3 separate regions of the Homo sapiens genome follow, and all the other regions are linked to region 1. Evidence: promoter capture Hi-C in 16 types of primary human blood cells and fetal thymus (Javierre and others, 2016). All regions are on one chromosome and are shown on one strand. The core of a region is centred on a gene start or on the middle of the fragment in contact, and the rest is flanking DNA. Distances in the headings are between cores, read along the strand shown. Region 1 holds the start of KIF24 (kinesin family member 24). Region 2 holds the start of NOL6 (nucleolar protein 6). Region 3 holds the start of UBE2R2 (ubiquitin conjugating enzyme E2 R2).

Evidence for each region. Contacts are between HindIII fragments. The CHiCAGO score rates a contact against its expected background, and 5 or more counts as called.
Region 2: a contact is called between the fragment with the promoter of NOL6 here and the fragment with the promoter of KIF24 in region 1, in 1 of 17 cell types (neutrophils). The highest score is 5.1, in neutrophils.
Region 3: a contact is called between the fragment with the promoter of UBE2R2 here and the fragment with the promoter of KIF24 in region 1, in 3 of 17 cell types (neutrophils, erythroblasts and total B cells). The highest score is 7.9, in neutrophils.

What each region holds. Positions count from the first base shown.
Region 1 is chr9:34,327,360-34,331,328 of GRCh38, reverse strand. KIF24 (kinesin family member 24) reads left to right here and starts at 2,061. Exons shown (of 13, transcript NM_194313.4): 1 at 2,061-2,223. NUDT2 (nudix hydrolase 2) reads right to left here and starts at 1,760. Exons shown (of 5, transcript NM_001161.5): 1 at 1,730-1,760. RefSeq lists enhancers at 1,815-2,004, 1,540-2,047, 2,135-2,234, 2,335-2,394. The HindIII fragment of the contact is 30,936 bases long and covers 70-3,969 here.
Region 2 is chr9:33,471,960-33,475,928 of GRCh38, reverse strand. NOL6 (nucleolar protein 6) reads left to right here and starts at 2,005. Exons shown (of 26, transcript NM_022917.5): 1 at 2,005-2,140; 2 at 3,517-3,723; 3 at 3,809-3,925. The coding sequence starts at 2,087. It overlaps LOC107987061 (a long non-coding RNA gene), which reads right to left and starts at 1,789. Exons shown (of 3, transcript XR_001746648.3): 1 at 1,732-1,789. RefSeq lists an enhancer at 2,054-2,393. The HindIII fragment of the contact is 3,045 bases long and covers 384-3,428 here.
Region 3 is chr9:33,815,375-33,819,343 of GRCh38, reverse strand. It overlaps UBE2R2 (ubiquitin conjugating enzyme E2 R2), which reads right to left and starts at 2,184. Exons shown (of 5, transcript NM_017811.4): 1 at 1,410-2,184. The coding sequence starts at 1,586. It overlaps UBE2R2-AS1 (UBE2R2 antisense RNA 1), which reads left to right and starts at 476. Exons shown (of 5, transcript NR_170204.1): 1 at 476-717. RefSeq lists silencers at 1,565-1,734, 1,805-2,014, 2,195-2,294 and an enhancer at 2,585-2,674. The HindIII fragment of the contact is 11,190 bases long and covers 1-3,969 here.

The sequences.
Region 1 (3,969 bases), core at 812-3,311:
GACATTATCAGAGGTACTAAATATATGAGTTACTGTTACCCGTGTGTCATAAAAGATCATCAAAAAGCTTCTCTGTTTTAAAGAAATGACTTTTCATCTTGTCTGTTAAACTGCTCAACACTGTTCACCACAGTATATATATTCCTTATAAGGTCCCACAGCATAAATTCCTTTTAATATAGAAACTAGAAAAATAATTTATCTTTTGAAGAATGGATTTGTTTCCTTATTAGTAAGAATTACCTTTTTTCCCTTAACTGACTAATTTTGGGCAAAATTGGGTACTCAGTTACAAAAAGTACACCAACGCACTGACTAGTGTATTTGCCTGTTCTTATTATAAGAATAATAGCTACCTTTTTTTTTTTGAGACGGAGTCTCCCTCTGTCGCCCAGGCTGGAGTGCAGTGGTGCGATCTCTGCTCTCTGCAAACTCCGCCTCCCGGGTTCGTGCCATTCTCCTGCCTCAGCCTCCCGAGTAGCTGGGACCACAGGCGCCCGCCACCACGCCCGGCTAATTTTTTGTGTTTTTAGTAGAGACGGGGTTTCACCGTGTCAGCCAGGATGGTCTCGATCTCCTGACCTCGTGATCCGCCCGCCTCGGCCTCCCAAAGGGCTAGGATTACAGGCGTGAGCCACCGCGCCCGGCCGCTACCATTTTTTAAGAAGTTACTACTCGCCAGGCGTTGTGTCAAGTGCTTTACCTTCATTATTTCACTTAATCTTCACAACAACCCGCTGAGGCATTACTGCCATTTTTCAGAAGAGTAGAAAGGGAACTATAGCTCAGAGATGTCTGGGTAAGTGACTCAAATGTAGGTCTGCCTGACTCCTAACATCAATGATCTTAACCTTAACTCTATAATAGCGTTTTACATTTGACAATTTGATTGCATTCAGTTTTTTTTTGTTTTGTTTTGTTTTTGAGACGGAGTCTCGCTCTGTCGCCCAGGCTGGAGTGCAGTGGCGCGACCTCCGCTCACTGCAAGCTCCGCCTCCTGGGTTCATGCCATTCTCCTGCCTCAGCCTCCCGAGTAGCAGGGACTATACGTGCCCGCCACGACGCCTGGCTAACTTTTGTATTTTGTTTAGTAGAGACGGGGTTTCACCGTGTTAGCCAGGATGGTCTCGATCTCCTGACCTCGTGATCCGCCCGCCTTGGCCTCCCAAAATGCTGGGATTACAGGCGTGAGCCACCGCACCCGGCCTGCATTGTTTACGCTGTCCCTTTTTTGTTTGTTTGTTTAAGGCGGTGGGGCTCTTGTTCGACTTTCTTTACTTCTGCTATAACTGCCACGATATTATCCATTCAATAACTGAAGCAATTAGAAAACATAAAATCTCTTTTGGAAAGCAGGCGGGGTTTAATGGGTAGCAACAAGTGAAACTGAGGCCCAGGGAGGGGAAGGTTCGGCGCCTGGGCCTCTGGGCCCTAAACCTGGACCTCTCCCGCCTCTGGGATTTGGACGACCCACCCTATCCCCACTCCGACGGGGACAAGCAAGGCTCAGAGTCAGGGAACCTCCCTTCTCCCGGTGCAGACAGGAAAACTGAGGTCCTGAGAGCGGATGGGACCTGGCCTGCCCACACCTCACTGCCAACTTAGAGGAGGGCGCATCCCTCTCGGGCCCTGCAGCGACCAGAGGTTTGCCAGAGGCAGATTCCCATCGCTCCAAGGCTCATTTCCTCCACTGAGAACTAAAATCAAGTGGGCCCTTAAGGGTACTCACCCGAAGCAGAAGGAGGTAGGAGGCGGACCTTGGACGGAAACTGAAGTACACCGGCCAATCAGAAGAGCCTGGTTACGCTTGGGCCCATCAATAGAATTCGGCAGAAGGATCTTCGACCCGCCTCAAAGGTGCGCGTCTCACACTGAAACGTCGCGAGATCTTCCCTCAAGCGGAACGATTGGCTGAAGGTCGGAAATTGAGAGTTACGCCCACGGTTTCTTCAGACCTCTGATTGGTCTTCCAGAGGAGAAGTCAACGAACGTCAACCGATTCCTTGGATGCCCATTGGTGGGCGGTGCGGGACTGGCGACGCGCGGGCCACAGCGCGGGCGTTCGAACTGGCGCTTGGCGGCGTTGCCATGGAGATGCGGCCTGGCCGCCGCCGGTGGCTCCCGGGTTGACGGGACTGTTAGGTTGCGGGCTTTGGGGCTCACTCCCGACGGCATTGTCTTCTCCTCTTCTCAGACAGGGCAGACCGAGGAGTTTGGACCGAGGTGAGAAAGGGCGGGGAGAATAGAGGAGGGGTAGGTCTGGTCCGGAACCGTGGCGCCTGCCCGCGGACACGGGTGCGCGTGACGTCGGCTGAGCGCGGGAGGAAACTGGCAGTTGTGAGGGAACCGAGAGTTGGCCCCTCTTGGCTCTTCCTAAAGTTCACCTACTTTCCTATCTTTCATCCCCATATCTCTGCCTTTTCTTCAGCAATTATCTTGAACGCCACTTCTCTCACTTTGGGAGACTAAACTCTTGAGTCCCAAAGCCTTCTTGCTTTTGAACCGATAAGCCTGACCGGCACCTCTTTTAGGGCATTTCTATTCGCCCTTGGGTTGTTTACTTCCGGGAAGCCCGTTCGCTTCCCTTTTCCCATAAAATTTTGAAGCCTTTGAGGTAAGGCAAGCATCGTTCACAATGTCTTGCACATAGTAGATTTTCAGGAAATATTTGTTGAGTTGAATTTAATTTACAAGAAATAGATTGGATTCCTCTTCATGCCCTGCCTTGTTGTCTCTCTGCTTCAGAGACGATTTTTTATTTCGAGGCTAGGGGGAGGCCACCCTAATCTTCAATGCAAAAGGACCTAAAAGTCCACACACAGTCCACAGCTGGCCTTTCTACTCTTTGTGAAAGGCTAAACTTTTTTGGATTGGTTGCTGCAACTCTTCCTGCATCTGTGGCTTTTAGCCTTGGTCTCCCAATAATTTTATTAGACTCCTTTTAGTCTTTGCTTAAAATAAACCATTCTGTTGCTGTATGCCAAGATAATTTATCTCCCTTTAGCTTCTTAGTGACCGGCAGCTATTGTCACATTTTAAGTGTGCTTTGGAAAATGTTTTAAAGCATCTTCTTTGTACTTGTATTCTACAAGTAGAGAGGCTTTGTAGTCTCTCTATTGAAGTGCATATAACAGCTGCTCAGGTGAACTCCATCTATTCATCAGGTGTCTATGATAGAATTGCGTTCCTAAGACTGTTTCGTTGTTAACTCATGGATTATATATTCACAGCCTGATTGTTGGTGTGATTGCTCCTTATATCAAATTCATAGCTCACTGGTGGCCTTAATAAAAGGAGTGAAAAAGTTCAGTACAGCAGCTATGTTCTTGTTACCCTTTTATAAAAGTTTGAAACACTACCTTATAGCTGTGACATGTAGTGGAAACCCACTACATGTGGGTTTGGCTTTGGCTCTGTCTCTGTCTCTAATTCACTGTGGGTGGCTTTGCAAGTCATTTAGTCCCTTTATTATTATTATTATTTTTTTTTTATTAGAGAAAATGTCTTGCTCTGTCACCCAGGCTGTAGTGCACTAGCATGATAATAGCTCACCGCAGCCTTGAACGCCTGAATCTAGCCCCTTTAGACCTCATTTTTTCCATCTGGAAAATCAAAGAATTGAATTAGATTAAAATTCCTGTGGCTCTACTCTCAAGTCAAGTAGTTGATGTCAGGTAGACCACACACTCTCAGCCTTCCAAAGACCATACAGACTTTTTTTTTAGCTGCTGAAAGTAGTAGTTACCATTTATTGAGTGTTCACCCCGTACAAAGCACTGTATCCAGGGCTTTATATGCATATTACATTTTTCTTAGTGTAGCACATTACTGCTAAGATAGCATTTTATTTAAAATTTGTGGTTTTATATTGTTAATGAAAATCTTTAGTTATTCAGAGTGTGTCCTTGGGGCAACCTAAGGTATGAGCCTCTCAGTTTTTAGTTTAGGGAGAACCACAGTTTCTTTCTC
Region 2 (3,969 bases), core at 756-3,255, 860 kb after region 1:
ACCCCGTCTCTACTAAAAAATACAAAAAATTAGCCGGGCGTGGTGGCGGGCGCCTGTAGTCCCAGCTACTTGGCAGGCTGAGGCAGGAGAATCACTTGAACCCGGGAGGTGGAGCTTGCAGTGAGCCGAGATCGTGCCACTGCACTCCGGCCTGGGCGACAGAGTGAGACTCTGTCTCAAAAAATAAATAAATAAATAAATAATAAATAATAAAAAAGCTATTGTATAAACTGACCTGCACTGTTTGAAGTCAGAATAGTGATTGTTGGGGGCAGAGTTACTAGAGGGCAGCATGAGGGGAGATTCTGAAGGTGCAGGAAATGTTCTGCTTATTTTCTGGGAGCTGACTATATGAGTATGTTTGGTTTGTTAGTATTCAAGCTTTACACTTGGGATATGTACATTTTTCCTTATGTATATTGTACTTCAATACAAATTTTTAGACTGGGCACGGTGGCTCACCCCTGTAATCCCAGCATTTTGGGAGACTGAGGAGGGCAGATCACTTGAGGCCAGAGTTTGAGATCAGGCTGGCCATCATGGTGAAACTCTGTCTCTACTAAAAATACAAAAATTGGCCTGGTGTGTTGGCGCATGCCTGTAATCCCAGCTACTTGGGAAGCTGAGCCACAATAATCAATTGAACCAGGAGGTGGATGTTGCAGTAAGCTGAGATCGACCCACTGCACTCTAGCCTGGGCAACAGAGGGACACTCACTCTCTCTCAAAAAAAAAAAAAAAAAAAAAAAAAAAAAATATATATATATATATATATATATATATATATATATATATTATATGGTAATAGTTGAATTTAGATGATCCTGCATTAGGAAATAAAATGAAACATATAACGGTTATTACTGGAATAACTGACAAAATTTAAAGATGGAATTTGTATACTAGTATTGAATCACGATTAAATTTCCTTAATTTCATAATCGGGCTGTGCTTACATAAGAGGTAGTCCTTGATCTTAGTAGATACATACCTAAGTATTTAGGGAGATGTGTGATTGGTTTTCAAATGGTTTTGCAAAATAATATGTAAATACATAGGTAAAGATAAACTTGGCAAAATAGTAACACTAAGTGAATCTAGGTGAAGAGTATATGCGCATTCATTATATTATTCTTGCAACATTTGTTTTAAATTTTTAATAGTTTAAAAATAGGCCGGGAGCAGTGGCTCAGGCCTGTAATCCCAGCATTTCGGGAGGCCAAGGTGGGCGGGTCACTGGCAGTCAGGAGTTTGAGACCAGCCTAGGCAACATGAGGAAACCCCATCTCTAGTGAAAATACAAAAATTAGACGGGTGTGATGGTACCTGCCTGTAATCCCAGCTCCTCAGGAGGCTGAGGCACGAGAATCGCTTGAGCCTGGGAGAGGGAGGATGCAGGGAGCTGAGATCGTGCCACTGCACTCCAGCCTGGGCGACAGAGCAAGACTACTCCAAAAATAAATAAATAAATAAATAAATAAATAAATAAATAAATAAATAAAAATAACTAAATTACTTGAAATTGTAATAAGCTAAGTAATAAGTAAAAACTGGAGAAAAGTCATAACAATAATTCGGGAACAAGATGATGTGACGGGCTAAACCTGGCAGTGAAGACACAGAAAAATGAATAAATTCAAGGTATGTTTTGGAGGTAGAACTGACAAGATTTGTTAACTGATAAGGTGTAGCAAATAAAGAAAAAGGGAGGAATAACTGCTGTAAACAAACCTGACCAAAAGGAACAAACTAGCTCCGCCCTTCCCGATTGCAGCCACGCGAAGGAAGTGAGGAAAAGAAAGCAAAGGCCTAGCTACGGGCAGGCTTCCGTTCTAGCGTCGCGAAGAGGCCGTAAAGCACAGAAACCCGTTTGTCCCCTCCCCTAATGGGCGGGCCTTGAGACTGCCCGGCCAATGGCAAGCGAGTAATCGACTGATAATCCAATAGCTCTGGAGTGGGTGGAGTCCTGAGGAATTGGGGTGGGCTGGACTTGGGCCTGGAGTTAGGCATTTCCGCCCACGTGGGAAGCTATGAGGTATAGACCCGGCTAGAATCTGAAGTGCGGGAGAGTGCTGGACCCTGAGTGATGGGGCCGGCGCCAGCTGGAGAGCAGCTTCGCGGAGCGACTGGAGAGCCAGAGGTGGGTTGAGCCATCGGGGAGGAACAGAGGCTCAATGTGCGCTCCCTTGGCTGCAGGGCCCGAGATGGCGTGATCTGACAGCTTGCGGGTGAAAGCCATGCCGGCGGCCCATTCTGGAGGATGTTTCCAGCCAGTGGCACTGAGACAGGGCTTGCTAGGGGTGATGGAACCTGGCAGTATTTGGTTAGAAGCAGTGAAGCCGGTAGAGCCTCTGCTCTCTTCTGGAGCTCTGCACCTCAAAGTTGAAGAGACCCACACTTGGGTCGTTTCTTTTATTTGGTGGTCCTTGACGATAAGCGGGATCTTCCTCCACAGAATTTGTGTCCAGTTCTGTGCTCCCCGCTGTAGCGGAGGGCATACGGTGCCTCTCCTGGAGCGCTCCAGTAAGGCTCTCTGGGATGAGAGGCATCGTGGAGCGGATGGGCCCACGGCTGTAGGGGAAAAGGTTTGGGATCCTGCACGCTTGCCTTTGAAGCCTGCTCATAGTACGGGTGTACCAGTTGTGGAACCTCGAGTGAATAGTGGGACTTCAAGTGTCTTCAAGAATTATTTTGAGGATTTAATGACTTGCTAAATGTGTCCTCTGGGGTCCAGTCGGTTCTAGCTCCTTCCATCAGTGAGTATTTAGTGTAAACTGAGGCAGTCAGGTCTTCCTAGAGGAGGTGGAACCTGGCAGGATTTGGTTGGAGCGAGAATGGGAAAGACATTTGAGAAGTCCCAGGCCTATATCAGCAGAAGAGGAAACTTCCTGAAAATACAAGGGGCCTGGGCATTACTTAGGGCAGGGCTCAGTCAGCTTCTTTTTTTTTTTTTTTTTTTTGACAGTCTTGCTCTGTTGCCCAGGCTAGAATGCAATGGCACGATCTCGGCTCACTTCAGCCTCTGCCTCCTGGGTTCAAGTGATTTTCCTGCCTCAGTCTCCCGCGTAGCTGAGATTACAGGCATGTGCCACCACACCTGGCTAATTTTTGTATTTTTAATAGAGACGGAGTTTCCCCATGTTGGCCAGGCTGATTTCGAACTCCTGACTTCAGCTGATCCGCCCAGCTCCACCTCCCAAACTGCTGGGATTACAGGCGTCAGCCACCGTGTCCAGCCTGGGCCCAGTCAGCTTCTATCACTACCAATTCCAAACAGAGCTCCATGCTTGTGGTGTCAGGTAGACAGGAGAGCTCTTAACTCAAGGAATTTTCGGCTCAGCGCTCAGTGATGTTCATCCAAGTAACGATTCTCCTGAGTTTTACAAAATCTGACTCCTACTCAAAAGAGGGACAGAGCAGGTGAAGCTTTTACCCACAACCTATCATGGTGGCACTTTAGGCAGCAGATGCTAGATACCTATTACCTCAAAATGGCTTCTCCCTCACTGGCCACAGGTGATGGAACCAGCCCTGGAAGGCACAGGCAAAGAGGGGAAGAAAGCATCCTCCAGGAAGCGTACATTGGCTGAACCTCCAGCGAAGGGCCTCCTGCAGCCAGTGAAGCTCAGCAGGGCAGAACTGTACAAGGAGCCTACCAATGAGGAGCTTAATCGCCTTCGGGAGACTGAGATCTTGTTCCACTCCAGCTTGCTTCGTTTACAGGTACTGTTGAGTGTCTGCAGCTTTTGTTCGAGGTGTGTACCTGGGACCCTGAGGCTGATGGACTGTCTTCTACCCTCTCTTACAGGTAGAGGAGCTACTAAAGGAAGTAAGGCTGTCAGAGAAGAAGAAGGATCGGATTGATGCCTTCCTACGGGAGGTCAACCAGCGGGTTGTGAGGGTGCCCTCAGTCCCTGAGACAGAGGTAAGCAAGTGGCCTGGGGAACTGGGAAGCCCAAGAGAGACCTC
Region 3 (3,969 bases), core at 935-3,434, 510 kb after region 1:
CTGTATCAATCCCATTTCCTACAAAGTTGACCTAATTTCAAGCATAAAACTGAGGTTTCCACCTTTAGAAGGGTAGAAAACAAGAGTTAAGTAATTGGGTAGTCCTAAAAATACACATCACAACTACATGACTAAGATACTCATTTAAAACTTGTGCCAAGATAACCCCTCCCTTCCAAACTAAAATTGACTCACTGGCCTATTTTACTTAATTTTGAAAATAAAAAAATAAAACTAAATGGATTCCTAAGCACTCATTTCCTCTCTCTGCCCCCATCATTTAAAATATTCAGACTTTCAATCTGTGATTCCTCCCTGCAAAAACACTCAAGTAAAAACAAAACAAAACAAACACTCATTATCTCCAAGTTAACTACCTTGGAGTTAAAAAAAAATCATTAGATTCTGGAATGATAACCACTGTTCTAAGACCATATAAAACAACAGAAACAATGTCTGTGGTCGCTAAGGAACCATACATCCCACCCAGAGAAACGATCTCGCCTCAGATGATACTTGTCATCTGTGAGACCACCCCTTTAGCTAGAGTTAACCACTTGAGCAGGTTTCAATTTTGTCTCTGAAAGTAGGAAGCTATCAGTCTCCCTACATGACTCGTTCCACCCTTTGTGGATACTTCTACCTGTAGAAAAAAAGGTTGGCAAACTTGGTGGCATGGTGAGGACAAAGGGCATTTTGAAAGAACCAGTGACTGAGGTAAGCAGAGAATGTGAACGGAAAGAGGGTTAAAGTTCCCCCAAATGGATAATGACAAGACGACGCGGGCACCCTTTTTTTTTTTTTTTTTTTTTTTACCACCCCTAGGGTCCCATTCTTCACCACCACCCATTGGAATGCAAAGTTGGCACTACCACTACCCAAGATGCCCAACAAATCCTCAAAATGTCAGGGCACTCGGCAGCTTCTGAAATGACAAGCTGGTGCCCCTCCCCCACCCCACCCCCACCCCCACCCCCCAAAAAAGAAAAGTCCAATCCAGTCGGTGCAGGTCACCCTGCCCTCTGGGGCAGTTCCAGCCTGCGCAGGGAGGGGTTCCGACCGGAGAACGAAAAAGCACAGATAGACCACCGCTCTTTCCACCCACCCTCAGCGGGGGAAACAAAGGCGGCCTCCTCCGCCCGTAGACACTACCCTAACCAGAGAGGCTCTCCGATTTCCCGGTGCAGCCTGCCCTCCCGCCCCCGCCCGAGCCCCCGCCCCCATGACAAAGAAAAGGCACTCGGCGAGCAAGGCCTTCCTGCCTCCAGGGATGGGGGAGGGGGCTGCACGGGTGAGAAGCCCCCTCCACTCGCCCGTGCTCATACTCCTGGTCCCAGGAACTGCAGAAAGCGGCGGGGAGCCGGAGGCCTCGGCCGCGGAAGCAGGGTCCGGGAGGAGGGTGAGGGTACCTTGAAGTAGCCGCCTTCGTAGAGGGTGTTGGGGGGTCCGAAGATGGCCACCTCCCAGTTGTAGAGGTCGGACTCGTCCACCAGGGTGATCCGGAAGCCCTCCACCGGTTCCTCCTGCAGGGATTTCAGCTCGAGCATCAGGGCCTTCTGCGAGCTGGTCATCTGCTGCTGGGCCATCGCGGCGGCGGCGGCGGCGGCGGCGCCGGGCCCGGGCCCCAGTCCTCACGCACCGGCCGGGCCGGACCAGGCCCCTCCCCTCCGCTCGCCCTCCGGCCGGGCAGCACCGGGCCCCGGTCTTCACACACCCGGCGGGCCAGACCAGGCCCCACACGGCCCGTGGGCCCGCCCGGGGTCCTCCTCACACACGACGCAGGCCGGGCCGGGCCCTTCTCCTCACACTCGGGCCGGGCGAGAGGAGAGGTCGAGGGAGTTAGGAGAATTCGCTACGGGTCCCGGTCCCGGGCCTCCCCCCCCCGGAGGGGGCCTCAACTTGGGGGGGGGGAGAGGAGGTGGAAGCGGAGGAAGGCGGCGGAGGGCCGGCGATGGTGAAGGGAGGGGGCCGGGCCGGCCCGGGAACGCCGCGCTCGCTCGCCCTCTCGTTCTCTTCGGGGGCCGCAGGGGCCGGAGGGCGCGCGGGGCAGGAGAGGGTGGGGGGAGAGCGGCGTGCGGGGGTCTCGCGGCGGTGGCGGCGGGGGCTGCGCGGGGGGAGGGGCGACGGCGGAGGAGGAGGAGAGCGAGAGCGCCTCGCGCCGCGGGAGCAACGGAGCCGAGAAGCAGGGAGGGAGGGAGGGAGGGAGAGAGGGAGGAGGGGCGCACGCCGGGTGCTGGGCGGCTCTCAGCGGCTGGCGGCCCGACGCGCGTGCGCGTGCCCCTCCCTCCCCTCCCCCCACCGTGCCTGGCTCTCCTCCACTACCACCTCCTCCTCCTCCCGTTTCCACGCCTCCTCTCGGTCTCCCGCGCGGTCGCGGCGCTTTGTGACGCTGGCGCGTGTCCCCCGCCCATAAAGATCCCAGAAGCAGCGGGGACCAAGGGCGGGCGCAGGGATTGCCGTGGCCCCAGAGTGACGGTTGTGCGGCTGGACGCCGCAGTTCCAAAGGCGTGCCCGGGAAGGGAACCCAGGTCTCCCGGCTCTCGGGGCCCTCCCCACTGTGGATCCAGGGGCCTCCGCAGCCATCCTGGGACGGGCCTGGTCGCTGCAGGCCCCTCCCCGTGACACCCAGTCTGCGGTCCCTCCACTTAGTAGCTACTTGATTAGGATGTGCTGACAATGTGGGTCTTTTCGGTGGGAACAGACCTTCCCGCAGGCCAGCCCACAGGCAAGTGTGCCCTTTGGCACGTTACTCACCCTGGGTGCGGCAGTTCCACGTGAGAAACGGGGTGAGACAAAAAGGTCAGCTTCTGCTTCCCTTCTTAACTACAAAGAGGAAGTTGTGAGGAAAAAGACAATAACAAACTGGGTCTCTAGCCCTTCTCATTGTGATTTGGGGCAAGTGCTCAGGCTGCCCTTCGCCTTCGCCATTTGTAAAATAAACTACTGTGGTTGAACTTAGGGGTCAAAGTTCCCTATAGGTGCTTGTGGCTTGAATGTCCACCCTGGAACTGAGGGACTTTCGAGATAATCATAACCGAAGTGAGATGTGGGGACAGTCTTTGGTCCCCCCGTGGTTCAGAATACAGTACTCCTTTCTCCTAGGAAGGCATGTCCTAGGATAACTGCCTAAAAAACATTTCCTAGAAAAGCCAGAATATTGTGAGAGTTCTACACACACAGTTTCGGAACTAGACAGATCTTGGTTCCAACCCTAGTTCCATTACTTCTCCCTGTATCATCAGTTTTTTGTTTTTTGGTTTTGTTTTGTTTGAGACAGGGTCTTGCTCTGTCACCCAGGCTGTAGCACAGTGGCGCGATCATGGCCCACTGCAACCTCCGCCTCCCAGGTTCAAGCGATTCTCCCACCTCAGCCTCCCAAGTAGCTAGGACTACAGGTGCATGCCTCCACACCCGGCTGTTTAATCAGCTTCTGTAAAAGGGGATTAATTATACCCAACACAAGCAATTGTAATGATTAAATGTATGTACAGCATTTAGCGTAGTGACTGGCACATGGTTAATGATTCATAGAAACTTGAAAGAAAAAAACTTTAAGGCATAGCTGTATTCTGGATACCACCACTACCCACCCCTTTTATTGAGACAGGGTCTTACTCTGTTGCCCAGGCTGGAGTACAGTAGAGTGATTATAGCTCACTCTAGCAGTAACCTCCTGGGCTTAAGCCATCCTCTAACCTCAGTCTCCCAAGTAGCAGGACCACAGGTGTGCACAGCCATGCCCAGCTAATTTTTGTATTTTTAGTAGAGACGGGATTTCACCATGTTGGCGAGGCTGGTCTCCAACCCTTGACCTCAGGTGATCCGTCCACCTCAGCCTCCCAAAGTGCTGGGATTACTGGCGTGAGCCACTGTGCCCAGCCAAGGACAGTTTTAGATTTATAGAAAAATTGAAAAGATAGTCAAGTTCCCCTACACCTGGCGCCCAGTTCCCCCTTTTATTAACATATT